Linked DNA regions of Homo sapiens: regions 1, 2, 4 and 5 are each linked to region 3. Evidence: promoter capture Hi-C in 16 types of primary human blood cells and fetal thymus (Javierre and others, 2016). All regions are on one chromosome and are shown on one strand. The core of a region is centred on a gene start or on the middle of the fragment in contact, and the rest is flanking DNA. Distances in the headings are between cores, read along the strand shown.

The links. The method cuts DNA at HindIII sites, captures the fragments that hold promoters and counts their contacts. A CHiCAGO score of 5 or more calls a contact.
Region 1: a fragment that was not itself captured here is called in contact with the fragment with the promoter of WWOX in region 3 in 1 of 17 cell types (naive CD8 T cells); the score reaches 5.0 in naive CD8 T cells.
Region 2: a contact is called between a fragment that was not itself captured here and the fragment with the promoter of WWOX in region 3, in 13 of 17 cell types (activated CD4 T cells, non-activated CD4 T cells, total B cells and 10 more). The highest score is 42.8, in activated CD4 T cells.
Region 4: a fragment that was not itself captured here is called in contact with the fragment with the promoter of WWOX in region 3 in 6 of 17 cell types (endothelial precursors, naive B cells, total B cells and 3 more); the score reaches 8.2 in endothelial precursors.
Region 5: a contact is called between a fragment that was not itself captured here and the fragment with the promoter of WWOX in region 3, in 6 of 17 cell types (total CD4 T cells, naive CD8 T cells, activated CD4 T cells and 3 more). The highest score is 10.0, in total CD4 T cells.

What each region holds. Positions count from the first base shown.
Region 1 is chr16:75,569,453-75,572,152 of GRCh38, reverse strand. All of the region lies in intron 3 of GABARAPL2 (GABA type A receptor associated protein like 2), which reads right to left. Among named protein-coding and RNA genes, the nearest start is that of GABARAPL2, 4.4 kb to the right of the region's middle. RefSeq lists an enhancer at 2,659-2,700. The HindIII fragment of the contact is 6,021 bases long and covers 1-2,700 here.
Region 2 is chr16:80,531,230-80,533,929 of GRCh38, reverse strand. All of the region lies in intron 1 of DYNLRB2-AS1 (DYNLRB2 antisense RNA 1), which reads left to right. Among named protein-coding and RNA genes, the nearest start is that of DYNLRB2, 8.4 kb to the left of the region's middle. The HindIII fragment of the contact is 6,624 bases long and covers 1-2,700 here.
Region 3 is chr16:78,098,404-78,101,103 of GRCh38, reverse strand. It overlaps WWOX (WW domain containing oxidoreductase), which reads right to left and starts at 1,450. Exons shown (of 9, transcript NM_016373.4): 1 at 1,219-1,450. The coding sequence starts at 1,325. RefSeq lists an enhancer at 717-1,216. The HindIII fragment of the contact is 3,217 bases long and covers 181-2,700 here.
Region 4 is chr16:80,461,141-80,463,840 of GRCh38, reverse strand. The region is part of intron 2 of DYNLRB2-AS1 (DYNLRB2 antisense RNA 1); the gene reads left to right. Among named protein-coding and RNA genes, the nearest start is that of DYNLRB2, 79 kb to the left of the region's middle. The HindIII fragment of the contact is 1,114 bases long and covers 744-1,857 here.
Region 5 is chr16:80,511,184-80,513,883 of GRCh38, reverse strand. The region is part of intron 2 of DYNLRB2-AS1 (DYNLRB2 antisense RNA 1); the gene reads left to right. Among named protein-coding and RNA genes, the nearest start is that of DYNLRB2, 28 kb to the left of the region's middle. The HindIII fragment of the contact is 2,118 bases long and covers 318-2,435 here.

The sequences.
Region 1 (2,700 bases), core at 109-2,608, 2.5 Mb after region 3:
TTCACTCATGTCACCCAGGCTGGAGTGCAGTGGCGTGATCTTGGCTCACCACAACCTCCTCCTCCCAGCTTCAAGCGATTCTCCTGCCTCAGCCCCCGAGTAGCTGGGATTACCGGCGACCGCCACCACACACGGCCTAGGACAGAACATATTTATCTGATAAAAAGAACAACTAGGCCGGGAGCAGTGGCTCACGCCTGTAATCCCAGCACTTTGGGAGGCCAAGGTCGGCGAATCACCTGAGGTCAGGAGTTAAGAGACCAGCCTGGCCAACATGGTAAAACCCGTCTCTACTAAAAATACAAAAAAAGTAGCCGGGCGTGGTGGCAGTCGCCTGTAATCCCAGCTACTAGGGGGCAGAGGCAGGAGAATCGCTTGAAGCTGGGAGGCAGAGGTTGCAGTGAGCTGAGATCGCGCCACTGCCTGGGCACTCTAGCCTGGGCGACATGAGTGAAACTCCGTCTCCAAAAAAAAAAAAAAAGTCCTGTCCTTAAAGAGGTATTTACCCAGAAATGATCAAAGTGCTTTAAGCACATTTCTAAATAAAGGATGATTAAGTGTGGGGTGAGAAGTCATTAATTGGGCCTGAAGGGTCAGGAATTGGATTTCTGGTTACTCTGTCCTAAAATCCTGACTTGGGTTACTGGTATAATCTGCTTTAGGGTGGATTCTCAGCAGAATGGAAAGGCAAATGGGACTTGGAGAGAAAATGGCCTTGAAGCAGTCTCTGTTGCCCTGAAAATCACTTTTCATTTCCAAAACATCACAACTTCCTTTTACTGAAGATCTCTTTAAGATCCAGAAGCAAATAAACACCATATTCTTAAACAGCACAGGTTTCCCAATGTCAGTTATAATATCTGGCCAGGCATGGTGGGTAACACCCATAATCCCAGCACTCTGGGAGGCCAAAGCAGGAGGATCACCTGTAGCCAGGAGTTTGAGACCAACCTGGTGAGGTAGGAGGACTTCTCAAGCCCAGGAGTTCAAGGCTGCAGTGAGCTATGACTGTGCCACTGCACTCCAGCCAGGGTGACAGAGCAAGACCTTGTCTCAACAACAATAAAAAATAATATCTTAGAGATATTATATTTAATGATATACTCCTGTTTCTATTTTAAACAGGGGATTAACAAGACTCTTATCTATGTTCTAAACAAACAAAGACCAAAGACCATTCACTGCCAGGTCTGAGTTCCCCTCTAACGTCATGACTAGGAAACTTGTACACTGATGTTTTTTCTGAAGTTCTGTCTGAACAAAGGCATGGTTCCCCATTCCGTTTTTGGCCTGATTCTTGATGCTGGCACCTAGGCAGAGAATTCAACTTTCCAATGCTAAATGGGAAAAGGCCATTGTGATTCCCTCTTTTTTAAATGAAACAAGAACTTAGAATTTAGGAAGTAAAACTTAGGGACTTGCCTCTGTCTCTATTTATAGAATCAATATTTAATACTAACTACTCTAAATAAAAATCATGACACTTTACATGGTGACCGCCTGTTTTCCACTCCAAGGCAGAAATAACTGAGAACTCACTCCCCTTCAGCCTCAGACATAATTGATCTTCATGCAGACCAGTCAGTCACCGGAGAGGGAGGGCTCCTGCAGGCCTGAATTCGTCCCTTCTCTAATTTCCCCAGCCACTCTTTGAAGCCAGCAAGCACTGCATGAAGGTTAAGGGAGGCTCCATGCTCCCCTAAGGAAGCTGAAAAGACCTGAGGAAGAGGCTGCTAAATTGTCTTGGGGAAGAGATGGTGAAGCTGAATCACAGCCAGCTTTAGGAAGGACCCTGTAGCACTTTTTATGTTTATGGGTGATTTATATATTGCATAAAGCCCAATGATGTCACACGCCTCTTATGTTTAGAAACAAATTTATATTTTTAGCCCGGTGTGGTGACATGCACCTGTGGTCCTGTCCCAGTTATTAGGGAGGCTGAGGTGAGAGGATCACTTGAACCTAGGAGGCAGAGATTGTAGTGAGCTCAGATTGCACCACTGCACTGCAATCTGGGCAACAGAGTGAGACTCTGTCTCAAAAAAAAAATTACTTCTGAGAATAAAACCCCAAAATAAACAGTTGCATTAAGTGTAGGGTGATAAGTCATTAACTGGGGCCAAAGAGCTGACAGCCTGGGCAAAAGGGCCCTAGCTGGTGACTCTAAATCCTGAAGGGTCAGGAGCTGGATTTCTGGCTACTCGGCCCTAAAATCCTGACTTGAGTTACCAGTGTAATCTGCTTTAGGGTTGATTCTCACCACACTGGAAAGGCAAATGGGACTTGGAGAGAAAATGGCTTGAAACAGTCTCTGCTGCCCTGAAAAATCATTTTTCATTTCCAATTCTATTTCTATCTCAGGGATAACGGGGGAGGGGAAGTTGATAAGACCTGTAGCCATTTTAATTGCTAGATTACTGTGGAGCCATCTGAGTAATCTTAAGGTCTCCAGAAGCCTGCTTCATTTCCTTTGAGAAGAACCAGAGAATCAGAATTGAGGAAAATAAACTCAATGCCATAGGTCCTAGTCACTTATTTTCTCCCACTAAGCCAACACCTCCAGGAAGTACAAAACACAGAGTCACCAAGGCTCTGTAGAAGTTGCAGATGTTATGAAAGAAGATTACCTCCCCAAACACGTTAAGGAAAGCCCAGGGTAACCACGGATGCCCAAGGCTTCCTCCCCTGGTGAAGACACAG
Region 2 (2,700 bases), core at 153-2,652, 2.4 Mb before region 3:
CCTTGGCCTCCCAAAGTGCTGGGATTAAAGGCATGAGCCACCGTGCTCGACCAAGACATTCTTAGATGAAGGAAATTTAGTGCCAGCAAACATGCACTTAAAAAAACATTAAATGAAGTTCTTAAGACAGAAGTGAAATGATATGAGAGGGAAACATACAACATTAGAAATGAAGGAAGAAGAAACTAAAAATGTAAGTATAATACACTAGCGGTCAGCAAACTATAGCCCATGTACCAAATTCAGCTCACCATCTATTTTGATTAATATAATTTAATTGGAACACAGTTATGCTCATTTGGCTATGTGTTGTTTTGGCTGTTTTCGTTCTATAAGCACAGAGTTGAATAGTTGTGACAGACACTGTATGGTCTGCAAAGCCTAAAATATTTATTATCTGGCCCTTAGCAGAAAAAGTTTGCTGAATCCTGTAATAGACTGTTACTCGCTTGAATTCTCTAAAATGTGTTTGATGGTTGAAAAAGGTTATAGCATTTTTGGGGGTTTTGAAAGAATGTAAATGTAATATGTAAGGTAACTACAAGTAAAGGGAGGGTAAAGAGACTAATCTAAGGGTAAGTTTCCTACATTTCAATTGAAGTGGTCAGGTATTGGTTTTAAGTAGATTGTGACAAATGAGCTATATAATCTCTTGGGCAATCAATAAGAAAAATTACAAACTGATACAGTAAAAAGGTGAAGTAGATAAATTATCATATGAAAAATTGTTTGGGCAACCCAAAAGGGAAAAGGGCAAACAGTAGAATGGTAAATAGATGGAACAATCAAATCCTGATACATCAATAATTACATATATATCACATAAGCAGACTCATTAAAAGATAGAGATTGTCAGCATGAATTAAGAAACCAAAAATGATCAGTGATTTCTGTTTCTGTAAAGATGAAGTAGACATGCTTCTGCCTATTGTTTCCCCTAATTATACCTAATAACTCTGAAGATTATATATACAAACAGAAGAGATTGAGATAACCAGACAGATTGGCTAGGGACCTTGGGATCCAAGGAATGACACGCTCATAAGTTACTTGAGATTTCTTTTTGTCACATATATCCTAGACTAGGATATCTTGCACAAGGAGCTGGCAGACCAGAAATGTCAACAGGCACAGAAAGATTTTAAAAGTCCCAATGAAAGCCTACCTTTTCTACCCAAAGGATCAACAAACATCCAGCCTAAAAAGATGGAAACTCTCAGAAAACAACCACTCGACTCCAGCCAAACACCACAGAAAAAAACCATCAAAGCCCAAGAGGAGAATATAGATTTCCACTCTCATATTGCCATCATTCCCTCCATCCTCTGTGATAGTATTGCCAGAGAAGAATGAGTAGGGAGTTGGGACTTTCGTCCCTGTTGGGTGTTAACTAGTTGCCCTCTCCCCCAGCAGCTTCAGTAAAGATAATGTGGGAACCCATTCTGCCACTTCCACCACACCCTAGCCTGTTAACAATAACATTAAGTATAAATAGTCTAAATACACCAATACAAAGACAGAGGTCATCAGAGAGCATTAGAACAAGCATGACTGAACTATATATCATCTACATGAAACTCATTTAAAAATATAATAATATTGGCAGGCAGAAAATAACAAGATGAAAAAAATGTTGTGTAAACATTAATCCAAAGAAAGTGAGTGACTACATAAATACCAGATAAATAGACTTCAGAGGAAAGAAAATTACCAGAGACAGAGAGAACCATTATACATTGATAAGATGATCAGTCCACCAAGAAGACATAGCAAACCTAAAAATTAAAATGTATGCACAAAACGATAGAGCTGCAAAATATTTAAAGCAAAAGGTGATAGAGTTGAAAGAAGAAACAGACACTTCCTCAATGATAGTTGAATTCAACATCCCTCTGTCAACAATTGATAGAAAAACCAGACAGAAAAATCACCAAGGATAGAGAACTAATATCATCAACCAACAGAATTTAATTGACATTTATAGAACACTCCCACCAACGTCAGTAGAAGACGTATCCTTTTCAAGTGCCCAAAGAACATATACAACAAGATAGGCCACATCCTGGACTGTAAGACAAACCTTAACAAATTTAAAAGAATGGAAATTATACAGAGTGTGTTCTCAGACTACAGTGGATTCAAGATAGAAATCAATAACAGAAAGATAATAGGAATATCTGCAAACACCTGAAAACTAACCAACACATTTCTAAATAATTCTAGTTGAAAGAGGCAGTCTCAAGAGAAATTTTTTAAATACAGTGAACTGAAAGACAATGAAATAAGATGTATCAAATTTGTGGAACCCAACTAAAGCAGTTAGAGGGAAAAATTATACGTGCTCTCATTAGAAAATATGAAAAGTCTTAATCTGAACTCTCACTTCAAGAAACTTGGAAAAGAAAAGCAAAATAAATTGAGTTCATATTTAAAAGTTCCCTGTATTAGTCAGGGTTCTCTAGAGGGACAGAACTAATAGGTTAGATGTATATATAAAGGGGAGTTAATTAAGGAGTATTGAGTCACATCATCCCAAGTTGAGGTCCCACAATAGGCCGTCTGCAAGCTGAGGAGTAAGGCAGCCAGTTGGAGTCCCAAAGCTGAAGAACTAGAGTCTGAAGTTCGAGGGCAGGAAGCATCCAGCATGGGAGAAAGATGTAGGCCAGAAGACTAAACCAGTCTTGTCTTTCGACGTTCTTC
Region 3 (2,700 bases), core at 201-2,700:
TGCACTCCAGCCTGGGCGACAGAGCAAGACTCCGTCTCAAAAGAAAAAAAAAAAAGAAAAACCCTCTGGAAGTGGGGCCCAGAAAAAGGCTCTTACAAAAAAAGTTTCCCAGATGCTGAAAATCAGATTTACATCCATGTTTCTCAAAACCAGGTGATATTCCACCTCACCTGGAAAGCTTAAAAAAAGAGACTCCCAAAGTTGAGAGTCGGCTACAGTAGGTTCTCTATGGAGACCCAAAACGTGTATTTAGGACATTTCCTAGGTGATTCTAAGGTGCCGATATAAGAGGCACTGTCGTATCTTAAGAGCAATCAAGGAACGACAGTTAAGGAACAGAGAGTACCTACTAGACACGGTGCTATGTGCTTTACGCACAGTGCCTGAACTGACCCTCGTATCAACCCATTTTACAGGTGAAAAAACCAAGATTAAACGTTATTTCAATGGCCCAAGGTCACACAGTTAAAGATGAAGGCTCTGCTGGGGTTTCCAAAACTTTCCCAGGAAATGATAGTGAAGCTATCTAGGACTGCTACTAAAAAATACTCCTGGCTAGGCGCAGTGGCTCACGCCTGTAATCTCAATTCTGGAGGCTGAGGCAGGTGGCCTGCTTGAGCCCAGTAGTTCGAGACCAGCCTGGGCAACATGGTGCGACCCTAGTCTCTACAAATACTTAAAAAATTAGTCGGGCATAGTAGTGCACGCTTGTAGTCCCAGCCACTCAAGAGGCTGAGATGAGAGGATTGTCTGAACCCAGTAGGTAGAGGCTACAGTGGGCTATGATGGCACCCCTGCACTCCAGCCTGGATGACTGAGCAATACCGGTCTGGACAAAACAAAACAAAACACAACAAAACTCCTATCCCTGCAACCCAGAGCCTGCAGGAGGGAGCTGAGCATGTGCGCTTTTTAAAACATCTTTATTTTTTGGCGGGGATGAGGCCGCTTTGCCCTCGCCGCGCCGCGCAGTGCTGCATCCTGAACAGCAGAGGGCGCGCCGGGAAGCCACCAGGTGACCCCCGCTGGACCCGAGGCCCACCAAGGGGGCCGGCCCCTACTGGGAACCCTGGACCCTTTTCCCTGAAGCTCCTTAACAGTTACTTTCACTTTGCACCGCACGCGCTGCGCTGGAGTGCGCGTCCTCCCCGCGCAGGTGGCGTCCGTGGGCTGTGCAGGGTCCCAGGTGCGTCCGCGGCCCCACTGCGGCCCCCTTACTTGGCGTAGTAAACCCAGCCGTCCTTGGTGGTTCTCTCCTCCCAGCCCGGAGGCAGCTCGTCCTCACTGTCCGTGTCGTCCAGCCCCGCGTAGCGCAGCGCTGCCATGGCTGACTGTGGAGGCACCTGGCCCCCCTATCGCCCGCTGCCGGGTCCACTCGCTCAGGAACTCACTCCCGCTCCAAACGAGACCCGCGCGCGTCGGGGCCCGACCGCTCACGCCTGCGCACTGCGCCCTCCAGGGGCCGCTCCGCCGACCACGAAGCTGAAATCCAGTCTCCGCAATATCGCGACGGCCGGCGTCAAAGGGGCAGGGCCTGGAGAGGAAGGCGGTGAAAGTGCCTAAGAGATCGCGCTGCCGCCGGGCTAGACAGCAAAGCCGGAGAGCGCTCCGAGGCGCTAGAGATAGAGCGGAGCCTTGTCAGCCTCCCCGCCGCAGGGAAGGGGCGTGCGCATCCAGTTTCGGGCCAGGACTCCGCCCGTTGCTGGGCGACCCGTAATCACTTCCGCGTTGTTCTGGCCAATCCTGCAGGAGCCCGGCAATTGGATATGGGAAATGTAGTCCAGGTGGCGCCTGACCAAAAAGCGGCGCCCGACTAAAAAGCGGCGCCCATGCTGTTGTCCTGGGCTTCTGTCTCTCCTTGCCTTGGGGTCTCGTGAAAGTCCGTGATCACAAACCTTCCAGGGCTTGCCAGCATTCGTGCTGATTCACAACCTTTGTTTTGCATATGAACACAATGTTAAAATATAACCTGGAGAACTTAAAACTGCTGATTCCTGATTTCCTGGTTTTAGAGAACTTTCTTTCAGCCAAAACACATAATAGAGACTGTGATAATAGAGACTGTTGTTTAATAGAGACTCATGATAATAGAGACTGATGATAATAGAGACTGATTGATAATAGAGACTGTTGATAATAGAGACTGATGTTTACGGAGCACTTAATGTGCGGTCCAGGCCAGAAATGCACAGACATCACATGTAGCTGACACCTTTGTGTAGTGGGCACAACTCAGACAGGGTAGCTAGGCCGGGCTCAGTGGCTCATGCCTGTAATCCAAACACATTAGGAGGCTGAGGCAGGAGGATCACTTGAGGCCAGGAGTTTGAGAACAGCCTGGGCAACATCGCAAGACCCCTGTCTTTACCAAAAATAATTATTTTTTTAGTTTGCCGGGCGTGGTAGTGCACATCGGTAGTCCCAGCTACTCATTGAGGCTGAAGGGGGAGGATCACTTGAGCCCAAGAAGTCGAGGCTGCAGTGAGCTATGATCGGGCCACTGCACTCCAGCATGGACGACAGAGAGAGCTGCTGTCTTTAAAAAACTGCCTCACCTTTAGAGAATTTCCTTTAGTAAGTCTGGAATAGGTCCAGAATCTGGAAAGAAAGGGAGGGAGGGAGGGAGGGAGGGAGGAAGGAAGGAAGGAAGGAAGGAAGGAAGGAAGGAAGGAAGGAAGGAAGGAAGGAAGGAAAATAAAA
Region 4 (2,700 bases), core at 51-2,550, 2.4 Mb before region 3:
CAGGTGACTGTTGAGAATAGGCTGTGTCGGTACGGATCTGAACACTATGAAGGACTTAGGAGCTACATCTCAAAACCTAGGGGGGAAAATAGTGCAAAATGGCTTTTGTTATTAGAGGTGTATTTTATTGCCTGAGGTTGGAAGGCTGTTTGCAGGTGGGAAATGTGTTCTCCAGGATCTTCCCCACAGGTGGTGCAGGTCTTCTGTATTTCCAGCCTGTCTCCTTCCCTATTAATCATTCTGATTCTCTCATCCTGTGCAGATGTCATGGGCCTCTGTATCTGAAGACTTTATCGGTGTTTATCTTGTAGCTTTTAATAAATCATTTACTGATGGTGTGTGATCCAGGGTGTTTTACATGAGTGAACGCCACCCTGGCCTCACCTTGCTGCATTCCTGTGACATGTCAGTGTGACTTCTGTTCTGGCTCCCTCCCTGAAACTGGAGCTAGAAAAAGGGAGTGAAATTGCTGTCTCAAAAAGCTTGTTTTGGGACAAGGGTGAACTTCACTTAATCTAATTATCTATAGTCATTATTGTATCAGAGGATGCACATTAAAGCAGAAACGGTTGCTGCAAGAGACTAGCACAGACCACGGAAAAGAAATTTGCTCTTCAGTGAGGGATGCACTTCAATCTGTCTCCTGCTCTCTTGACTCTTTTTGGTTTATGGTATGTTCTAAACCAGGGAGTGGCAAACTATTCTTGGGCCACCAGCCCGCCTCCTGCTCTGTAAATAAAGCTTTATCGGAACACAACCACAGCTATTTGCTCACGTATTATCGATGGTTGCTTTTCCAGGTATAATAGCAGCATTGAGTAGTTGTGACCCTCTGGCCTGCAAAGCGTAAAATAATTATCATCTGCCCTTTTACAGAAAAACTTGTGAGGGCCCCTGTTCTAGATATTTCACAGTTACCATCAGTGGGTGGTGATGCCCTGTCTGTGTCCTAGGGGTCCTCCAATCTGTGCCACAATTCTGAAGAAAAAAGTGTCAGGGACAATAGTACTTATGCCCATGTGAATGTCTACATGCACACATATGTGTATATGTGTTTATAATGTATAGGTGTGTGCCTGGGTGCAGGGGGGAAATCTTGAAGGGTGTACACCAAGCATGTGAACAGCAGTCATCTGGGTGGCAGGATTCTGTGTTGTCTTTCTCACGAGTGTATATTTTTGAGGTTTTCTGCGATCACTGTATATTTTGTATACGGCAGCAGCAACAACAATGACACAATCCTTCCTTCTTTTGTTACCTGATTTTCCCTGTATGGTTGGTGACAGTAAAGTTATGTTCCCATAATGAAATTGAGCAGGGAAAATGTCCTTTGTAGTTGAGAACTTAAGAAGCATTTGGTGACATCTGAGCACATGATCCCTCCTCCCCTGACACAAGGAGAATGAGCAATTATAGCTGTTTTGACATTAAATTTGAAAACAAAATGAATTTACATATGTACATACACGCATCTACATGCATTTGTACGTGTATATAAAATTTCCTTTTTATTTCCCCTTTCCTGTGCAACATTTCTCTAGTTTCTCTTCATTTATTATAATTACTTTTGGTAGCCTACAGATGCCAGTTGTAAGTCAATGGCTTTGGAAAAAATAAGAACATCTTTACAAAATATTTTTTGAAGAGCATGCATTCCTTCATAAGTTAGCAGCTACAGAAAGTAAAGACCACGTTTGCTTGCTCCTGGGAAATTTGCATCTGGGAATTCTTTGGAAACCGGACAAGGTCCCTTAAACTGTCTGTTCCTTGCTGCATGAACACTACATCAGGCACAACGGAAAATGGAAACCTAACTGCCTTTCCATGTTTTCTTTCTTTTTTTCTTAAATGCAAGCTTTGAAGGATCAAAGTCATGAGGACCAGCCAGGATTTGGGCTTGTTCCTGCCTCCCAAGTCAGCATAGCTGGGTGCAGAGATGGGTCAGGTGGTTCTTAAAACAGGTGCCTGAGTGCTGCCCTGGGACACTTGTACATTTAGGGGTGGGCAAGAATACTGCTTGTATTAGTCTGTTTCCAAACTGCTATAAAGAACCACTTGAGATGGGGTAATTTATAAAGGAAAGAGGTTTGACTTAGTTCTGCATGGCTGGGGAGGCCTCAGGAAACTTACAATCATGGTGGAAGGTGAAGGGGAAGCAAACACCTTATTCACATGGCGGCAGGAGAGAGAGAATAAAGAAGTGTCTCACTTTTAAACCGTCAGATCTCATGAGAACTCACTCTGTGTCATGAGAACAGCATGGGGGAAACTGCCCCCCACGAGCCAATCACTTCCCACCAGGTCCCTCCCTTGATAAGTGGGGATTACAATTTGAGGTGAGATTTGGGCGGAGACACAGAGGCAAACCCTATCACTGCTCATACTCCTTAATCTTTATTCAATTTGTTCTCCCTTTGTAAGACTCCAAAGAGAGTCCTGACTCCACAGCTACAGGTATGGCCAAGTGGTGGTGGCTGGTTGTGCAGAGGAGCTTGGTTTGATTCAGAATCTGCTTCCCTAAACCATTTGGATCTGTGAGGGTCCTGACATGAGGTGTGCCTCTCTCTCAGTGCAAATGAATAGGTACACATTGGCAACTCTGCATCCCAGGATATCATTCCACAGCAGCGAGACTCACCTGGCAGAGGCCCTGGTTTAACAGACATACTGGCAGGAAACAGAGCTAGGGTATCCTCTCTC
Region 5 (2,700 bases), core at 127-2,626, 2.4 Mb before region 3:
TCTTAGAAAAAAGACTGCTTAGAAAAACAAAAACAAAAGTGATCTATAGATCCCCTTTCAGGTGATTTTCTTTTGCCTTTTTTTCTTTTCTTTTTCTTTTAAGACAGGGTCTCACTCTGTTGCCCAGGCTGGAGTGTAGTGGCAAAATCACGGCTCACTGCAGCCTTGAACTCCTGGGTTCAAGCGATCCTTCAGGTGATTTTTTAAGTGGTATATGTAACAGAGTTCTTTGGCTCCTTGTCTTGCATCTCCTTGATCTAATTCTCTTTCAACTTCAGGTGAGACACACCTCAAATGACAGAATCCCACATCAAGCTTTCTCTCCTGGGGAGTTAACCCCCCTGGGGCTAACCCTTCACAAAGGCGGGATGGAAGCCAGTGGAAAAGTACCCAGCTTTTCCTCCTTTACCTACTGTTCAGAGATCCCAGAAGAATCAAACCCTGGTGTCTGCAGCAGTGAGCCTGTGTGTTTCCTTATCTCGGCTTTTCCTCCTTCTCTGGATCATCTCCCAAACAAGCAAATCATGCATCTAAGTCCTTGTACTTAGGCTCTGCTTCTGGGGAGACGCAAAATAAAACAGTTAAAAAAAATTTCCCCCGAGTTAATTTGCTTTTGCTTTCTCCTTTCCCAGATCTTATCTATTTTTATTGTTTTGGAGTAAGTATGAAAATGTATTCTTTTGGCTGGGCGCAGTGGCTCACGCCTGTAATCCCAGCACTTTGGGAGGCTGAGGCGGGTGGATCATCTGAGGATGGGAGTTTGAGACCAGCTTGGCCAATGTGGTGAAACCCCATCTCTACTAAAAATACAAAAATTAGCCAGGCATTGTGGTGCATGCCTGTAATCTCAGCTACTCGGGAGGCTGAGGCAGGAGAATCGCTTGAGCTCAGGAGGCGGAGGTTGCAGGGAGCCGAGATCGCGCCACCGTGCTCCAGCCTGGGTGACAGAATGAGACTCTGACTCTAAAAAAAAAAAAAAAAAAAAAAGAAAATGTATCTTAAAAAAAAATAGGGGTAATATAGGTACATCAACTATAAACATATATACATACATATATATTCTATGTTAAAGAATAAAATATATAATGAACATATTTATTTTTAACATGAAAACTGTCTCTTTGTAGAGACAGTACATTATGGGCAGTACTCTGTCATGGGTCAGACAGACCTGTCATGGAGGAGTGGCTCCGTGGTATCCTAAGCTAGTGAACTTGAGACAGTTATTCACCCTCCCTAGGCCTTAGTTCTGTGTCCCCTGTAAGACAGAGGAAGCATTTTTATGGGATTGTGATGCGTATTAATTGACAGTGTGCATGTAGCTTGCTAGCCTGGTGCTGAGCATTTAGCAAGCACCTAGCACATTTCAGTGATTTACATAAAAAACGAAAGTCTCCAGTAAGGCACACATACCCCGTACTCTGTGTGGGAGGAGGAGGGGATAGAAAACCACTGAGTCTGCTGTGTATCCTTCTAGAATTTTTCTGTGTTTATACACACATTCTTTAAAAGTGCATATGTATATGTTGTTTCATATAGTTTACTTTCTCTTTTATGCGTGTGGGACCATAGTATACATACTCTTCTGCAAGTTGACATTTGTTTTAAACAGATAACACATTGTGGACATTCTCCTGGATCAGAATATATGCATTTATTGCATTAAAAAAATGGCTGCATGGTCTTCCTCTGCATGAATGAATCCATTTGTGATGGTTAATTGTATGTGTCAACTTAATTGGGCCACGGGGTTTGACATTTGGTCAGCATTATTCTGGATGCTTCCGGGAGGGTGTTTTTGGATGAGTTGAACATTTACATTGATAGACTGAGTAAAGCAGGTTGCCCCAATGTGGGTGGGCCTCATCCAATCAGTTGAAGGCCTGAATAGAACAAAATAGCTGAGAAAATGTCCTCCTGCCTGACTGCATGAAGCTGGGACATCAGTGTTTTCCTGCCTTTGGCTTGAACGGAAGCCTGGGCTCTTGAACTGAAACATTGGGTTTTGAGCCTGCTGATGTTTGGACTGGAAATACGCTATCAGCTCCTCGTTCTTAGGCCTTAGGACTGGGACTGGAACTAAACCCTTGGCTTTCCTGGTCCTCTAGTGTGATAACTGCAGATCTTGGGACTTGTCAGTGTCTATAATTGCATGAACCAATTCCTTATAATAAATACTTCCCACCCTATACACACACACACACTATATATATATATATATATATATATATATATATGCATATTGTATATATACAAATATAAATATATACTGTATATGTATATCTATATATACACACACACACATATATTTTGTGTGTACATATATACACACTATATATAGGTTCTATTGGTTCTGTTTCTCTGATGAACTCTCATTAATACACCACTGCTTTACCCTTTCCCCTGTTCATGTACATCTAGGTTGTCTCCAAGCTTTCAATATTTCTAAAATACCAACGACATTTTTGCACATTTCTCTTCTTGGCCTCTGGGATGAACCTGGAAGTGGCATTATTCATTTTAAAATACAATTCTGGGCCGGGCACGGTGGCTCACGCCTGTAATCCCAGCACTTTGGGAGGCTGAGGCAGGCAGATCACGAGGTCAGGAGATCGAGACCATCCTGGCTAACATGGTGAAACCCCGTCTCTACTAAAAATACAGAAAAATTAGCCGGGCATGGTAGTGGGTGCCTGTATT